Regions from separate parts of the Homo sapiens genome. Here region 2 is linked to region 1. Evidence: promoter capture Hi-C in 16 types of primary human blood cells and fetal thymus (Javierre and others, 2016). All regions are on one chromosome and are shown on one strand. Each heading gives the region's core, a stretch centred on a gene start or on the middle of the fragment in contact. The rest is flanking DNA. Distances are from core to core; before and after follow the strand shown. Region 1 holds the start of ZNF561 (zinc finger protein 561). Region 2 overlaps ZNF317 (zinc finger protein 317).

Region 1 (2,526 bases), core at 13-2,512:
CCAGGTTGAAATCCAATGGCACTAACACAACTCTCTGTAGCCTAGACTTCCCGGGCTCAAGTGATCCTCCCACTTCAGCCTCCTGAATAGCTGGGACCATAGGTGCGTATCATCACTCATTATTATTATTATTATTTTGAGACAGAGTCTCACTCTGTTGCCCAGGCTGGAATGCAGTGGCATGATCTCAACTCATTGCAACCTCTGCCTCCCAGGTGCAAGCGATTATCAGGCCTCAGCCTCCCGAGTAGCTGGGATTTCAGGTATGCACTACCATGCCTGGCTAATTTTTGCATTTTTAGTAGAGACGCAGTTTCGCCATATTGGCCAGGCTGGTCTTGAACTCCTGGCCTTAAGTGATTCTCCCACTTCAGCCCCCCAACTAGCTGGGACTACAGGTGCACACCACTGGGTCCGGCTAATTTTTTGTAGTTTTAGTAGAGACAAGTTTTCACCAGATTGCCTAGGCTAGTCTCAAACTCCTGGGCTCAAACAATCCTCCTGACTTGGCCTCCCAAAGTGCTGGGATAATAAGCATAAGCCACGATGCCTGGCCCATTACTTCTATTTAATACTGAAAAAAACCTACACTCAAACAACCCTAGTAGTCGGTCTGATACTTGTCCCTAGAGCCTGATCTCCTGTATATGGTGTTACCCCCCCGCCATATGACCAGAAGACAGTGCAGACCTGCACAGAACAATTCAGTAGTCACCAGCCACGTGTGTTATTGATAACTTCATTACGTACCTAAGATGACTTAAGAACAAAATCTAAAATTTTCAAAAGTCGGCCGGGTGCAGTGGCTCACACCTATAATCCCAGCACTTTGGGGGACCGAGGCAGACAGATCACCTAAGGTCAGGAGTTCAAGACCAGCCTGGCCAACATGGCAAAACCATCTCTACTAAAGATAGAAAAAGTAGCCGGGCGTGGTGGCACTTGCCTGTAATCCCAGGTACTCGGAAGGCTGAGGCAGGAGAACTGCTTGACCCTGGAGGCAGAGGTTGCAGAGGTTGCAGTGAGCCGAGAGAGCGCGCAGCCTCTCCGAACTGGACGCACAGGGAGGACTGATAGTCCCTGGAGAAGCGAGTGAAGTGAAGCGGATCTGAGAGGCTCCTAGGCGACAGCGCGCAATCATTCCTTTGCCGCCCCCTGCTATCCCCGGGACCGCCAAGGAGGTGGAACTCACCACAGCCTGGGCAGACTCCACCACCATAAAGGCGAAACCGCACTGACGGAGAGGAGCCAGCGCCGGAAAAGATGGCGGTGGTGCGCTGACGTCACTTCCGCTTCAACACTCTGGCCGGGCGAGGCTCGTGGGCTCCAGTTTCAGCCACGTAGGACCGGGTAGAACACAGAAATTCTAGTTTCCTCTCGGGTGGGTGCAGAAAGGGCCTGGGGTTGGCTCAGGGAGGGGGATGCAGAACTAGGTCCAGAGAAAAAGGTGAGGTTAGAACCGGGCCTCCAGACGGAACTGTGGGCGAGGGGAGGGGCTCGTACTCGGGGGGTGATTTAGAGGAGGGACCCGGCCTAGCCGGTGGTTCAGGTGGCCGGTCGGGCTGGAAGGGCGGGGATGAGGGATGGGACGCATCCCCGGGGGATGCTCCTCCAAAGCTTTTATCGGGCGAGCGCAGTGGCTCACGCCTGTAATTCCTGCACTTTGGGAGGCTAAGGTAGGTAAATAGCTTGAGTCTGCTGGGAATGGGTGCTCGCTTGGTGTCACAAAATCAACACTGAGACAAAGGATCTCAGCAAGGCTAGTTTTACTTTCTGCAGAATGGGTGCCACTGGCTGGCAGTCTTGCCACCAGAGCACACATTAACAAAGGAGACAGGGTTTTTTTAAACTTGAAGTGTCCATCCTTCTGCTGTGTCCAGCTTCCATTGGCTGGAACGGGACCTCACCTTCCTGTACTTCACTGGATTGGCTAGCAACTTAGAACTTCCCAAAAGAGGCAATGGCAGAGGAGAACAAAGGAAGAGAGGAAGTAACTTGTGGACTGTTGAGAGAGGCAAAAACACTTCTAAATAGGGAAAGGAATAGGCCATGACCTAATAGTTGCTTGGACCAGTTCAGGCATGCCAGGGCAAATATCTAGGCTAAAATGTGGGAGCTAAAAACAGAGTCTATTGATTTCTTTATTACGGCTGGCAGAATTTAACAATATTACCACAGGTCTTTGAGAAAATTTGGCTTCTAAGAGGGATTACTATTTATTTCAATCAGACTGGGAGGAAAGTCCCTTTGAAGAGGAACCTGTATTTATTTCATTTTCTACAAGTCCAAGAGTTTGAGACCAGCCTGGGCAAAGTAGCAAGACCCTGTCTCTCTCTCTCTCTCTCTCTCTATATATATATATATAAACATATATGTATAAATACATATAAATATATAAATATATAAAAAATATATAAATATACATGTTCAAAATGCTTGTTCCCTGGTGCCATAAAGAAATTAGCACTTGAACATAAATTTAATTTACTCAGCAAGGCCATTTTTACTTCCTGCAGAAACGGTATA
Region 2 (2,526 bases), core at 19-2,518, 470 kb before region 1:
AGTGCAATCAGAACCTGGGTGTCAGCACCTCCAAATGGTGGGGGTGTTTCACAATGTGGACCTGTGGGAGATGGGGGAGAGGGGCCCAGGGGAACCCTGACCTTTAGGGGCTGGGCAGAGGAGGGATCTCAAGCCAGAGTCTTCAAAAGAGCAACCAGAGATGTGAGCACAGACTGGGATGAGTGGGCTATGGCTGCAAGAGCAGTGGCATTCCCAGGAAGAGGGAGATAGATTCATAGTGAGCAAGATGATGTGTCAGGAGGTCAGGCAAAGGAAGGGTCAAGATGTAGTGTCAAGGAGTTCCCACATAGGGGACAGTACAGGTGACATAGGTCACTTTGAGAGGCAACAAGATGTGGCTCCGCAGTCACGTCAGCTGGGCTCACAACTTCCACCTATGACCTTGACCAAGTGTCTCGGACCCTTGGTGCCTTATTCTCTGGGTACTTGAGAATAATTCCGGGAGGTTGTGAGGATTAAATAGGAGTGGCCCTGGAAAGACTCAGGAGAATGTCTCATACCTTGTAAACACTACACATGTCGTTATTTGTAGAATTGGCATTAATGTTGGTGGGGAAAGGTGGAATGGGACCTGCAGAAGCTTGTTAGTTGAGCATGAATGAATGAATGGTAGGTGAGGATGGAGATACTGTGCCTCAGGAACTGAGCCTCTGTCACCCTCTCTCCCCTTCCTCAGCAGTGACTTAATGTCAGAACCCAAAGGCACAATGACTAGAAAAGGGCTTTGTAAAAAGAATGAAAGCGTCATGCATCTTTGAGTTGGCCCAAGATCAAATTTGGTGTTGAATAATGAATCCCCAAGGCAGAGTTTATACGTTAAAACACACTTCCTATATTATTGTTTTGAAATGTTTCTGAATATCTAAAACAATTCCAATAGCAGAAATACTAATTGATGTTGAAAAAGATTGTTATAACCCTGGTAATGTTTAAAAGTGGTAATATTGATTATTGATCTGAGTCAGATGTTAAAGTAGCAGCGTCACGGTTCTTACATCAGTGCTGTCATGAGAGTCGCGGTGGAAGCCAGAGAGAGGAGGCATGTTCATACAAAGCAAATTAAATCCCCTCCCGAGGTGTGGGCCACCATACCTCACCAATGTATTGTGGTTTTGATGTTATTTCCTTAATGACTGATGTTGTTAATCATCTTTTCATGTGTTTACAGTTCATTTCTGTAAATTTGGAGAAATGTCTGTTCTGTTCAAGTCTCCTGCCCACTTTTTTACTGGGTTGTCTTTGTTGTTGAGTTTATAATGATATTAAATCCCTATCACATACATGATTTGCAAATATTTTCCACCATTCTGTGTCTCATTCACTTTCTTGATAATGTCCTTGATGTTAATTCTAAATGTTTGGTAGGGTTCACCAGTGAAGCCCCTTGGTCCTGGACTTTTTTTTTTTTTTTTTGAGACGGAGTCTTGCTCTGTCGCCCAGGCTGGAGTGCAGTGGCGCAATCTCGGCTCACTGCAAGCTCCGCCTCCCAGGTTCACACCATTCTCCTGCCTCAGCCTCCCGAGTAGCTGGGACTACAGGCACTCATCACCACGCCTGGCTAATTTTTTGTATTTTTAGTAGAGATGGGGTTTTACCGTGTTAGCCAGGATGGTCTCGATCTCCTGACCTCCTGATCCACCCGCCTCGGCCTCCCAAAATGCTGGGATTACAGGCGTGAGCCACCGTGCCCAGCTGGTCCTGGACTTTTTATTTAATGGCTTTTGATGACTGCCTCAGTCTCTTGTTATAGGTCTCTCAATTTTCTTTTTCTTCTAGAGCCTGTTTGGGTATGTTTCAAGGAATTTGATACATCTAGAGCATTGATCCCCAAGCCCTGGGCCACAGACAGGTACCGGTCCCTGGCCTTTTAGGAACAAGGCCCTGCCGCAGGAGGTGAGCGGAGGGCAAGTGAGTGAAGCTTCATCTGTATTTACAGCGGCTCCCCATCACTCACATTACCCCTGAACTCCACCTCCTGTCAGATCATCAGCAGCATTAGATTCTCATAGGGGCGCAGACCCTATTGTGCACTGCACATGCAAGGGATCTAGATTGCACACTCCTTATGAAAATCTAATGCCTGATGATCTGTCAGTGTCTCCCATCACCTCCAGATGGGACCATCTAGTTTCAGGAAAACACTCTCAGGGCTTCCACTAATTCTATATTATGGTGAGTTGTATAATTATTTTACCATATATTACAATGTAATAATAATAGAAATAAAGTGCACAATAAATGTAATGCACTCAAGTCATCCCAAAACCATCCCCCCTCACCTCACCATCCATGGAAAAATTGTCTTCCATGACACCAGTCTCTGATGCCAAATTGGGTGGGGACTGCTAGTGTAGATGATCTAATGTGTTGGTGCATAATTGTTCATGGCATTCTCTTACAGCCCTTTGAATTTCCGTAAGGTCGGTAGTAATGTCCCACTTCCACTGATGATTTTAGTTACTTGCATCTTTTTTTGTTAGTAATTCTAGCTGTAGTTTTGTCACC

Evidence for each region. The method cuts DNA at HindIII sites, captures the fragments that hold promoters and counts their contacts. A CHiCAGO score of 5 or more calls a contact.
Region 2: a fragment that was not itself captured here is called in contact with the fragment with the promoter of ZNF561 in region 1 in 1 of 17 cell types (M0 macrophages); the score reaches 7.4 in M0 macrophages.

Annotation. Positions count from the first base shown.
Region 1 is chr19:9,619,970-9,622,495 of GRCh38, forward strand. It overlaps ZNF561 (zinc finger protein 561), which reads right to left and starts at 1,263. Exons shown (of 6, transcript NM_152289.3): 1 at 1,193-1,263. ZNF561-AS1 (ZNF561 antisense RNA 1) reads left to right here and starts at 1,513. Exons shown (of 4, transcript NR_122038.1): 1 at 1,513-1,676. RefSeq lists enhancers at 442-1,024, 1,173-1,592. The HindIII fragment of the contact is 2,809 bases long and covers 1-1,615 here.
Region 2 is chr19:9,150,491-9,153,016 of GRCh38, forward strand. All of the region lies in intron 1 of ZNF317 (zinc finger protein 317), which reads left to right. Among named protein-coding and RNA genes, the nearest start is that of ZNF317, 11 kb to the left of the region's middle. The HindIII fragment of the contact is 1,338 bases long and covers 600-1,937 here.